2 separate regions of the Homo sapiens genome follow, and region 2 is linked to region 1. The links are contacts of gene promoters, found by promoter capture Hi-C in blood cells and fetal thymus (Javierre and others, 2016). All regions are on one chromosome and are shown on one strand. Each heading gives the region's core, a stretch centred on a gene start or on the middle of the fragment in contact. The rest is flanking DNA. Distances are from core to core; before and after follow the strand shown.

The links. Contacts are between HindIII fragments. The CHiCAGO score rates a contact against its expected background, and 5 or more counts as called.
Region 2: the fragment with the promoter of ZC3H7B here is called in contact with the fragment with the promoter of CHADL in region 1 in 3 of 17 cell types (erythroblasts, M0 macrophages and naive CD8 T cells); the score reaches 8.1 in erythroblasts.

The regions. Positions count from the first base shown.
Region 1 is chr22:41,236,979-41,243,702 of GRCh38, reverse strand. CHADL (chondroadherin like) reads left to right here and starts at 2,772. Exons shown (of 6, transcript NM_138481.2): 1 at 2,772-2,829; 2 at 4,083-4,260; 3 at 4,818-6,527. The coding sequence starts at 2,822. RefSeq lists enhancers at 2,168-2,668, 2,669-3,169, 4,619-5,206, 5,207-5,795, 5,796-6,384 and 1 more and silencers at 5,482-5,861, 5,922-6,021. The HindIII fragment of the contact is 52,914 bases long and covers 1-6,724 here.
Region 2 is chr22:41,297,027-41,303,084 of GRCh38, reverse strand. ZC3H7B (zinc finger CCCH-type containing 7B) reads right to left here and starts at 1,560. Exons shown (of 23, transcript NM_017590.6): 1 at 1,313-1,560. It also overlaps a transcript of RANGAP1 not described here. RefSeq lists silencers at 1,184-1,253, 1,534-1,873, 5,986-6,058 and an enhancer at 951-1,452. The HindIII fragment of the contact is 7,155 bases long and covers 1-6,058 here.

The DNA of each region.
Region 1 (6,724 bases), core at 1,523-4,022:
GCCTCAGCTCACTTAACAGGCATGAACCACCATGCCCGGCTACAGTGCTCTTTCTAATAAACCCATGCTGGAAACAACCCAAATGTCTATCACTAGAGGAATGGGTAAGCTACTTGTGGTACGGTGTGGTACCGAGAAGGTAGGAATGGTCTGCCCAAGAAGAAATATTTTAGCATTGACATTGTTTAGACTTGTCAGCACATGATAATAAAAAGCAGAGACCAACTTTAAGTCAGTTCCATTGTGTCTCACTTCTCCACTGACAGCACACCCGCTTACTGCCTGCATTGTGGGCAGACTGCCTCCCGCCCCTGCCCCATGCCACTGTTGTCATATATTTATAGAATGGAAGGCTGGAATGCTGAATTTAAAAAAAAAATTAAAATAGATGAAGCCGGGTGCGGGCTCACACCTGTAAATCCTAGGACTTTGGGAGGTTGAGGCGGGCGGATCACTTGAGGTCAGGAGTTTGTGACCTGCCTGGCCAATATGGTGAGACCCGTCTCTACTAAAAATACAAAAATTAGCTGGGTGTGGTGGCGGGTGCCTGTAATCCCAGCTACTCGGGAAGCTGAAGCAGAATTCCTTGAACCTGGGAGGCGGAGGTTGCAGTGAGCTGAGATCACGCCACTGTACTCTAGCCTGGGCAACGAGAGCTAGACTCCGTCTCAAAAAAAAAATAAAAAGATGATTCTCACTAACATAATATTGAGTGGAAAACGCCAGACACAGCCAGGTGCAGTGGCTCATGCCTGTAATCCTAACGCTTTGGGAGGCCGAGGTGGGAGGATCACTTGTGCCCCGGAGTTCAAGACCAGCCTGGACAACATAGCAAGACCCCAACTCTACAACAAATTTTAAAACCAGCTGGAGGTGGCGGTGCATATCTGGAGGTCCCAGCTGCTTGGGAGGCTGGTATGTCAAGGCCGCAGTGAGCCATGATCACACTTCACTCACACCTGGGCAACAGTGAGACCCTGTCTCAAAAAAAGGACGAAAGAGCACACTGAAGTTCCATTGATTGGAATTTGCCAAGCAAAAAAAGCACAAAGCAGATGGCTGTGTGGCATGGCACTATTTCTTTTTTTAAAATGTTACTGCAGGGCTGGGCGTGGTGACTCATGCCTGTAATCCCAGCACTTTGGGAGATCAAGGCGGGCAGATCACTTGAGGTCAGGAGTTCGGGACCGGCCTGGCCAACATGGCGAAACCCCGTCTCTACTAAAAATGCAAAAATTAACCAGATGTGGTGGTACACATCTGTCATCCCAGCTACTTGGGAAGCTGAGGCAGGAGAATCGCATGAACCAGGGAGGTGGAGGTTGCAGTGAGCTCCAGCCTGGGCGATAAAGTGAGACTCTGTCTCAAAAAACAAAAAACTCCTGCAGTCTAGGAAAAGTACACACAGATGTTCATTGTTTAACATATATAAATATATATAAACATATACATTTATATTTTTATTATATATAAATATATACACACATAAGTGTATACACACACACATACATATATATATATATATATATATATATATATATATATATATATATATATATGTATATATTTTTTTTCTTTTTTGAGACAGTTTCACTCTGTTGCCCAGGCTAGAGTGCAGTGGCGCCATCTCGGCTCTCGCGTTCATGCCATTTGCCTGCCTCAGCCTCCCAAGTAGCTGGGACTACAGGCGCCTGCCACCACACCCGGCTAATTTTTTGTACTTTTAGTAGAGATAGGGTTTCACTGTGTTAGCCAGGATGGTCTTGATCTCGACCTCGTGATCCACCCGCCTCCGCCTCCCAAAGTGCTGGGATTACAGGCGTGAGCCACCGCGCCCGGCCTTTTTTTTTTCTCTTGAGACAGAGTCTGTGTTGCCCAGGCTGGTCTCAAACTCCTGGGCTCAAGTGATCCTCCCACCTCAGCCTCCCAAAGTGCTGGGATTACAGGCATGAGCCACTGTGCCTGACCCCTGTTTCCAATTAAAGGAACAAACAGTAGAAGATGCAATTCCATCAGAAGCAGGAATCTGAAAAATCAAGATACATGAACATTGGCCATGGTCTGGATGTATTATTTAAAAAACAAACACGAGCTTGGGAAGATGCGTATTTGGATATTCTTTGCAATATTGTTTGTAAATAGCAAAAAATTGGAGGTAGCCAATGTCCAAGATGAATGGCTAAGTCAATGTGATACATTTACACAATGGAATACTATATACCACAGAATAATGAGATTCGGAAGAGTCAATTTGGATAACTCCCAGTAATCTGAGGTTAAGTGAAAAAAATGAGTGTCTAGAATCCTGTGTGTCCAGTATTAAACTATTTATGTCAATGTGTAAGCACAAACGGAAGGAAAGGGTCACCTGTTCTGAAGCACCCACTGTGTGCCAGGTGCGGGCCTGAACCCCCACTGTGACCTCAGAGCTACTTATTAATGGGATGTGTTTTTCAGAGACTAGGAAGCAGCCTCTGGGAGGGCAGCCCACATGGCAGGAGGGAGCCCAGGACTGCTGACTCCCGGGCCAGCTGCTGGTGCCCCCTCCCTGTCGGGCTGGCCCAAGGATTCAGGCCGGGGCCTCAGTCCTCGGCTGGGGCAGGCAGGAGGCCCTGTAACTCCAGCCGCTGCTCCCGCCCGCCGCCCGCCCCTTCTTCACCTCAGCCTGGGGAAGCCTGGCTTGCCTGGTCTGCCGACAATGCCTCCCATTCAGCCCTGTCCCAGCTGCCAGGCCTGCGGGCCGTGGAGGGGGGCTCCTGCCAGGCGGGGACAGCCTGTCCCTGCGCTGCGCCTCCAGGCTGGACCAGCAGTTCCAGGCGGCATGGAGGGGTGAGTCTTTGGGCCCGATGGTGCAAGGGGGGATTCAGAGCAGCTCAGTGGCCTCAGGTAAGTCTCTGCCCCCTCTGGGCCTCTCAGAGGCTGGCGGGCAGGGGCTCTGGGGACTTCCTGGGGTTCTCCAGGAAGGGGGTCTCCCAAGGTGGGCTCTGAGACACGTGGCAATGTGGCCACTGCCAGGAACTGGTCCTCTGGGGCTTGTCTGAGAGCCCAGCAGTGGTCCCTGCATTATGAATGCTTGTCGCTTCAGCGATCTGTCCCCATGGGTCCCCTCCCTGGCCTGCCCTGAGGCACAGCCTTCACCACAGGCTCTGGAGAAGCCACCAACTCCAACGCAGGGGCTGGAGCCTGGGACCCAAAGGAGACTCCAAAACAGACGATAGTCCAGTGAGCAGCGAGGGGGAGGCTCCTGGGGGCCGGGGAACAGCCCAGCGATGGGGGAGAGGCCATGCCTGACACAGGCTGAGAACAGAGGGGCCAGCTGGGCAGGGGAGGTGATCTATCATCCTAGCGCTTTGGGAGGCCAAGGTGGGACAATCACTTGAGGCCAGGAGTTCAAGACCAGCCCGGGCAACATAGCGAGACCCTGTCTCTACCAGAAGTAATTAAAAAATTAGCCAGGCGTGGTGGTGTGTGCCTGTAGTCCCAGCTACTCAAGAGGCTGAGGTGAGAGGATCACTTTAGCCCAGGAGGTGAAGGCTGCAGTAAGCCATAGTCATTCCACTGCACTCCAGACTCCAGCCTGGGCAACAGAGCAAGGCTTGTCTCTATTTAAACAAACAAACAAAAAAAGACTCAAGGACCCGGACTGGATGCCTCCCTCCTTTCTGGGGGGTACCATTATGCTCCTGCCACCTGGGAGCTGGCATCATATCAGTCTGAGGACAGGCTGCTTCCGAGCCTACCCTGGACCAGAGCCTCACCACAGCCTGAGAACATGCTCTGAACTGGAGTCATTCTCACAGTCAGCAAGTCCTCACTGAGCCATTGGGCAGAGGCAAAGGGACTAACCAGGTCACTTTTCTGAGCCTCGGTTTCCTCCCATGTAAAACAGGACTAATCATAGGACCTCCACTGCGTGGGGGGTGGGGGGCAGGGAGGCTCAGGGTGATTGGCACTTTCCTGGGCCCAAAGGAGGAGGCTCTGAGGGGTTTTTGGGGCAGGAGCTGCACCATGGCTGGGACTAAGTGAGGGACAGCATGTGGCCTCGGCCCTTGTGCACAACAGACTCTCCCTCCCCGTCCCAGGCCCCGGAGCTCCACCCATGTCCCCTTGGTGCTGCCGCTTCTTGTACTTCTGCTGCTGGCCCCGGCTAGGCAGGCCGCCGCCCAGCGCTGCCCACAGGCCTGCATCTGTGACAACTCCAGGCGACACGTTGCCTGCCGGTACCAGAACCTCACTGAGGTGCCAGACGCCATCCCTGAGGTCAGCAGGGCAGGAGCACAGGCACAGAGTGGCAGTGGGGCAAGGTGGGGACCCAGAGGGAGGAGCCTGGGCTGGGCACCAGTTGATCTGCCACCGCCTGCCCGGGAGACCTTGGCAAATTACTTCTCTTTGAGCCTCAGTTTACACTTCTGTAAAATGGGAATAATAAAAACCAGTAACAGGGAGATGATCTATTTAAAATCCTTACTGTGTGAATGGAATAAGTAGGTGACCCATAGATCGATACTGAATTCACTGCAGACCCTGTGGTGGAGAGGCGGGCTGTGGCAGGGTGAGGTGTGGTCTCTGCTCTGCAGAGTCATCAGCTAGTGGAGGAGAGAGAGCGAGGAGGCAGGGACAGCACAGTGTGAAAAATGCCACAGTGGGTGATGCCCAGGGCACTGGAGAGGAAGGCTTCCTGGAGGAGGTGTCAGGGGTCGGATGAAGAGAAATATGGGAAAGGTGACAGGAGAAAAGAGTGTTCCGGGGAAGAAGCAGCACTTGCAAAGGCGGGGTCCCTGCCTGGCTCAGCCCCACTTTCTCCTCGCTGTCCCCAGCTGACCCAGCGGCTGGACCTGCAGGGCAATTTGCTGAAGGTGATCCCCGCAGCCGCCTTCCAGGGCGTGCCTCACCTCACACACCTGGACCTGCGCCACTGCGAGGTGGAGCTGGTGGCCGAGGGCGCCTTCCGTGGCCTGGGCCGCCTGCTCCTGCTCAACCTGGCCTCCAACCACCTGCGTGAGCTGCCCCAGGAGGCGCTGGACGGGCTGGGCTCGTTGCGGCGGCTGGAGCTGGAGGGGAACGCACTGGAGGAGCTGCGGCCGGGGACGTTCGGGGCACTGGGTGCGCTGGCCACGCTAAACCTGGCCCACAACGCCCTGGTTTACCTGCCCGCCATGGCCTTCCAGGGGCTACTGCGCGTCCGCTGGCTGCGGCTGTCGCACAACGCGCTCAGCGTGCTGGCCCCCGAGGCCCTGGCTGGCCTGCCCGCCCTGAGACGGCTCAGCCTACACCACAACGAGCTCCAGGCTCTGCCCGGGCCTGTCTTGTCCCAGGCCCGCGGCCTGGCCCGTCTGGAGCTGGGCCACAACCCGCTCACCTACGCGGGCGAGGAGGACGGGCTGGCGCTGCCCGGCCTGCGGGAGCTGCTGCTGGACGGCGGGGCCCTGCAGGCCCTGGGTCCCAGGGCCTTCGCACACTGTCCGCGCCTGCACACCCTCGACCTCCGCGGGAACCAGCTAGACACCCTGCCCCCGCTGCAGGGCCCGGGCCAGCTGCGCCGGCTGCGGCTGCAGGGGAATCCGCTGTGGTGCGGCTGCCAGGCGCGGCCCCTACTCGAGTGGCTGGCGCGGGCGCGCGTGCGCTCGGACGGCGCGTGCCAGGGGCCGCGGCGCCTGCGGGGCGAGGCTCTGGACGCCCTGCGGCCCTGGGACCTGCGCTGCCCTGGGGACGCGGCGCAGGAAGAGGAAGAGCTGGAAGAGCGGGCTGTGGCCGGGCCCCGCGCCCCTCCGCGCGGCCCTCCGCGCGGCCCCGGGGAGGAGCGGGCAGTCGCGCCTTGCCCTCGCGCCTGCGTGTGCGTCCCCGAGTCCCGGCACAGCAGCTGCGAGGGCTGCGGCCTGCAGGCGGTGCCCCGCGGCTTCCCCAGCGACACCCAGCTCCTGGACCTGAGGCGGAACCACTTCCCCTCGGTGCCCCGAGCGGCCTTCCCCGGCCTGGGCCACCTGGTGTCGCTGCACCTGCAGCACTGCGGCATCGCGGAGCTGGAAGCGGGCGCCCTGGCCGGGCTGGGCCGCCTGATCTACCTGTACCTCTCCGACAACCAGCTCGCAGGCCTCAGCGCTGCTGCCCTTGAAGGGGCTCCCCGCCTCGGCTACCTGTACCTAGAACGCAACCGTTTCCTGCAGGTGCCAGGGGCTGCCCTGCGCGCCCTGCCCAGCCTCTTCTCCCTGCACCTGCAGGACAACGCTGTGGACCGCCTGGCACCTGGGGACCTGGGGAGAACACGGGCCTTGCGCTGGGTCTACCTGAGTGGAAACCGCATCACCGAAGTGTCCCTTGGGGCGCTGGGCCCAGCTCGGGAGCTGGAGAAGCTGCACCTGGACAGGAATCAGCTGCGAGAGGTGCCCACTGGGGCCTTGGAGGGGCTGCCTGCCCTCCTGGAGCTGCAGCTCTCGGGCAACCCACTCAGGGCCTTGCGTGACGGAGCCTTCCAGCCTGTGGGCAGGTCGCTGCAGCACCTCTTCCTGAACAGCAGTGGCCTGGAGCAGGTGGGCACTGGGCATCTGGCGGGGTTGGTGCAGGAGGCGGCACAAGGCCACAGGCAGCGTGCATTCACTCAACAAGCATTTGCCAGCCCCTTGGTGCCAGGTCTCAGCCTGGGCACGGGGACCCTGAGATAAACCAGGACTGCCCCTACCGGTGTGAGTGACAGTCCGGGCAGAACCCAGGCCACACACGGTGCCTG
Region 2 (6,058 bases), core at 311-2,810, 61 kb before region 1:
GGTAGTAGAACTAAAGATTCTGCCAGCATTTTGTGTCCAACACAGTTGCTACATGTACTATAATTATCTCATTTGTGTGAAAATTCAAGGATCTGCATTCTGCTATTTTCATCAGGCTGAACTGCAGATGCTGAGGAATATGGCAAGAAGTTGGGGTTCAAAGTCTGATGCCAAAGCTAGCAACCCGAGAAATAAAACCGCTGATCACCAGCTCCCCACTCAGGCCCAGCCCCCTTTTAGAGCCCCCAGACTCCCCACGCAGGGCCCTAGCCCCCTAGTCTTCCCCGTCAATGCCCTGTTGGCAATACAGCCATCAGGTTCTATCAGAGTGAGCTGTTTTTATATGATTATTTTCCCCCCTGGGAAGACGGCTTTGTCTGTGAAAGTCCCCCCAACCAGGCGCCTTATAAACGCCTAAAACAGACAGAGTTGAGGAGAAAGGAGGGGAAAGGAGGAGGGAGCAAACCCGGAGGGGGGCCCTGAGGTTCGCAGCGGGCAGGATGGGGGTATGAGGCCGGAGTCGGCGGCTCCCAGGCCCCCAGCCCCGTCAGGGCGCCCCCGTCCCCAGGCGCCAGAGCCGGGGTCCGCAGCCCCCTAGCACTCCCTGGACGGCCGCGGGCCTCCCACAGGCCTCGAAGTCCAGAGACTGATCCTGCGACCGGAAACGCCCCCCTGCCCAGCAGGCCCAGACCGCGCCCCCCTTTCCTGCCGCCCCCTTCCCGCGGGCCCGGCTGCAGGCCCCGGATCCCCGGGCTCGCGTGGCCGCCGCAGCCGAAAGGGGCGGCCCGTCGGGCGGCCCCGCTCCCCGGCCCTCGCCGCGGCCCCTCCAACTCCGGGTGCTGCGGGGCCAAGGACAACACAAAAGGAAGGGGGGCCCTGCCAGCGACGCCCCTGCCAGCCCCCGAGACCCCCTGCGCGGGGTCGGCAAAGCATCTGGACACCCCAGAAGCTCCGGACGCCGAAGAGAGAGGCCCCACGAAAATTTCAAGACACCTCCTGGGGGCTGCAGGGGCGGCCAAGTCTCCCCAGCGCCAGGTGCCCCCGGCCACACGGTAACTTTTAAACTTTGGGGCAGGGCACGGGGACCGGGATCCCCAAAAAGGAGCAAATGGGGTTTTAGAGACGATTTATTTTTTGCAAAATCCCACTTTCCAGGTGGCCCGGCGCGCGGCCCCGGCCTGGAAAGGGCTCTCTTCGCCTCTTCCCCAGCCCTGCCCGGCCCGGGCGTCCCCGAACCCTCGCGCGCGGGCGGCTCCGGACGCAGTGTCCCCGGCCTCTGCCCCGCGGGGCTCGGGCCGCGCCAAGCACTCACCTCCGCCGGGCTGCGCTCCCCGCGGGCCTGCGCCGAGCCCGATAAATGGTATGCTATGACTAGAGGTATGATTACGTTATTATTATTAGTAATAATAAGAGTAAATGCTATTTAATTACGGGCGGCCGCATCCTGCTCCCGGCGCCGCCGCCCCGGCAGCTCCGTCCATGTGGCTCTGGAGCGCTTTACTTTCATTTCCAGCCCCTCGGCTGGCCGCTCGCGGCAGCACCCGCTGGAGGCACTGTCTCCCTGCAGCTCTTCCTCCTCGGGTCCTAGAGAGCTCGGCTCCCGTCGCCTCGCCGCGCCCGGGGTGGGCGGCGCGGGCTGCGCACCTGGGGAGAAGGGCGGGGGGCGTGGGGGCGAGTCGGGGAAGCCCCATTCCCCGTCGAAAGCTCATGCCTGGAATTCACCTTTATTTTCTTTAAAAGTGTCCTGCCTTTTAGGGGGGTTTCTTTTGGCAGTTCTGCATTTCTGGGCTGATGCTGCTCAAACCCAGCGCCTCCGCCCTTCCCCATCTGTGTCAAAAGTCCCCCCGCCCCCCTTCTCCGGCTTCCAGGTGCTTTCATGGAAGGCTGCCCAAAACCCTGGTTGCGTTGTGCCCTTCTCATAGATGGGAACCGGAGACACATAGAAGAATCAGGACCTCACTTGGCTGGAGTTTTATGTATAGGATGTTAAAAAAAATATTGAATGACACTTGTTAAAGACTACAAGGCCGACTTTATTGGCATCATGATGGGTGTAGGGACCACTGCAGTGGGTTTTGCGGTCAGGGAGAGTATTTGGGCTCAATTCAGAAATCAGCATGGGCAACTGGGAATTTATGAGGAAGGAGAAAGGATCCACTGATTGAGCGCCAGTGCATAGGAAACTGCATCAGAGATGAGAGGATTCTCGCTTAAACCCATCTAACAAGATTCTTGCTGAAGGCAGGGCAAGGTGATCAGACATCACCTGGGGAATGGTGGAAAATGAGGAACCTGATTAGATATTGACAATCAGGGCTGGGTGCAGTGGCTCACGCCTGTAATCTCAGCACTTTGGGAGGCCAAGACGGGTGGATCACCTGAGGTCAGGAGTTCAAGACCAGACTAGCCAACGTGGTGAAACCCCATCTCTACAAAAATACAAAAATTAGCCAGGCGTGGTGGTGGGTGCCTGTAATCCCAGCTACTCAGGAGGCTGAGGCAGGAGAATCACTTGAACCCCAGAGGTGGAGGTTGCAGTGAGCCAAGATCATGCCATTGCACTCCAGCCTGGGCAACAAGAGCAAAACTGTCTCCAGAAATATATGTGTGTGTGTGTGTGTGTGTGTGTGTGTGTGTGTGTGTGTGTGTGTGTGTGAGTTCCCAATACCCCCTAGGCAATTTACAATGAAACACCCTTGACAACTTATCACATTTACCACCATGGTTATTATCACTCTCATTTCATCGATGAGGATGCTGAGGCCAGTTGGATTGCTGCATTTTGCCTCAAGTGAACTAGATGGCAAATGGTCTGGTGATTCCACCACCCCAGGTTGCTGGTGAAATAATGAACACATATTCTTGAAGAGGACTGTCCATCATTCAAGGGGGATTCAGCAGGACACCAGCCTCTTATCTCTTCAAGTTGGTACCAACTTGTTCAATTGTTTGGGCTGCCTAAGATGGTAAAGGGGTCTTTATTACAAGACCCCAACCAGAGGTGAGGATGCTTTGGAGAAAAGGGCCAGGAGGAGGCCGGGCGCGGTAGCTCACGCCTATAATCCCAGCACTTTGGGAGGTTGAGGCGGGCGGATCATGAGGTCAGGAGATCGAGACCATCCTGGCTAACACGGTGAAACCCCATCTCTACTAAAAATACAAAAAATAAGCTGGGCGTGGTGTCGGGAGCCTGTAGTCCCAGCTACACAGGAGGCTGAGACAGGAGAATGGCGTGAATCCGGGAGGCGTAGCTTGCAGTGAGCCGGGATCATGCCACTGCACTCCAGCCTGGGCGACAGAGTGAGACTCTGTCTCAAAAAAAGAAAGAAAAAGAAAAGGGCCAGGAGGCTGGCATCGGTAGGCTTTCTGGGAAGCCCCATGTTGTCAGTCCCATGTTGTCACAGTGTGCTCTATGTCCCCATGTTAAAGCTGAAATAGCAGTAACAGCCACCGCTTCTTTACTATGAGCCAAACACTTTGCATATGTTGATTCTTTTACCCTCTCAAAAACCCTGTAGCTCGGCACGGTGGCTCACATCTGAAATCCTAGCACTTTGGGACGCCAAGGTAGGTGGATCACCTAAGGTTAGGAGTTCGAGACCAGCACGGCTAACGTAGTGAAACCCTGTCTCTACAAAAAAATACAAAAATTAGGCCGGGCGCGGTGGCTCAGGCCTGTAATCCTAGCACTTTGGGAGGCCGAGGCGGGTGGATCACAAGGTCAGGAGATCGAGACCATCCCAGCTAACACGGTGAAACCCCATCTCTACTAAAAATACAAAAAATTAGCCAGGCATGGTGGCGGGCGCCTGTAGTCCCAGCTACTCGGGAGGCTGAGGCAGGAGAATGGCTTGAACCTGGGAAGTAGAGGTTACAGTGAGCCGAGATCGTGCCACTGCATTCCAGCCTGGGCGACAGAGCGAGACTCCATCTCAAAAAAAAAAAAATTCATATGTTGAATCTCTAATCCCTGATTTGATGGTATTAGGAGGTGGGGCCTTTGGGAGATAATTAGGTCATGAAAATGAAGCCCTGATGAATGGAATTAGTGCTCTTATAAGAGACACTGGGGAGATTATCTCTCTCTGCCAGGTGAGGATACAGCAAGAAAGCAGCCATCTATAAACCAGGAAGGCGGCCCTCACCAACAACCTGACCATGCTGGGACCCTGGTCGTGGACTTCCAGCCCCCAGATCAGTGAGAAATAAATTTCTACTGCTTAAGCCATCCAGTCCATGGTATCTGTCATAGCAGCCTGAGGTGACTAAGATGGGGGTAATGTGAGTACTGTACTCGATGGGGTACACCCAAAATCCCAACACTAGGAGGCCGAGGTGGGCAGATCGCTTGAGCCCAGGAGTTTGAGACCAGCCTGGGCAACATGACAAAACCCTAACTCTGCAAAAAATACAAAAAATTGGCCGGGCGTGGTGGCTAATGCCCGTAATCCCAGCACTTTGGGAGGCCGAGGCCGGGCGTGGTGGCTCACCCCTGTAATCCCAGAATTTTGGGAGGCCAAGGTGGGCGGATCACCTGAGGTCAGGAGCTTGAGACCAGCCTGACCAACATGTTGAAACCCCATCTCTACGAAAAATACAAAAATGAGCCAGGTGTGGTGGCACGCACCTGTAATCCCAGCTCCTCAGGAGGCTAAGGCAGGAGAATCGCTTGAACCTGGGAGGTGGAGGTTGCAGTGAGCCGAGATCGCGCCATTGCACTCCAGCCTGGGCAACAGAGTGAGACTCAGTCTCAAAACAACAACAACAACAAATTAGCCAGGTGTGGCCAGGCGCTGTGGCTCACGCCTGTAATCCCAGCACTTTGGGAGGCCAAGGCGGGTGGGTCACGAGGTCAGGAGTTCAAGACCAGCCTAGCCAATATGGTGAAACCCTGTCTCTACTAAAAATACAAAAATTAGCTGGGCGTGGCCAGGCACGGTGGCTCATGCCTGTAATCCCAGCACTTTGGGAGGCAGAGGCGGGTGGATCACCTGAGGTAGGGAGTTCGAGACCAGCCTGGCCAACATGGGGAAACCTTGTCTCTACTAAAAATACAAATATCAGCCAGGCGTGGTCACGGGCGCCTGTGATCCCAGCTACTTGAGGCTGAGTAACAAGAAACGCTTGAACCCAGGAGGCGGACGTTGTAGTGAGCCGAGATCGTTCCACTGCACTCCTGCCTGGGTGACAAGAGCGAGACTCCATCTCAAAAAAAGAAAAAAAAAAATTAGCTGGGCGTGGTGGTGTGCACCTGTAGTCCCAGCTGCTCTGGAGGCTGAACCAGGAGGATGGCTTGAACCTGGGAGGCAGAGGTTGGAGTGAGCCAAGATCACACAACTGCACTCCAGCTTGGGCGATAGAGCAAGACTCGGTCTCAAAAAAAAAAAAAAAAAAAAAAGCCAGGTGTGGTGATGTGTGTGTAGTCCCCAGCTATTCAGGAGGGTGAGCCCAGAATCCTCAAAGCGGAGGATCCTTGAGCCAAGAAGGTGGAGGCAGCAGTGAGCCATGGCTTCATCACTGCACTCCAGCCTGGGTGACAGAGCAAGAGGTTGTCTTGAAAAAAAAAAAAAAAGTACTGTACCCAACTGAAAGGGTCTGTGATGGCTCATGATGTGTCCACTTGCCTGGGCCACAGGGTGCCCAGATATTTGGTCAAACATTCTGGGTGCTTTTGTGGGGGTGTTTCCAGATGAGTTTAATATTTAAATCTATAAACTGAGTAAAGCTGATTGTCCTCCCTAAGGTGGATGGGCCTCATCCAACCAGTTGATGACCTGAATAGAACAAAAAAGCTGACTCTCCTGCAAAGAAGAGAGAATTCCTCCTCCATGATGGCCTTCAAGCTGGGACATTGACTTTTGCTTTCTTTTTTTGAGAGGGAGTCTTGCTCTGTTGTCCAGGCAGGAGTGTAGTGGTGCTATCTCAGCTCACTGCAACCTCCACCTCCCAGGAGTTCAAGTGATTCTCCTGCCTCAGCTTTCCAAGTAGCTGGGGCTACAGATATGCGCCACCACACCCGGCTAATGTTTGTATTTTTGGTAGTAACGGTTTTCACCGT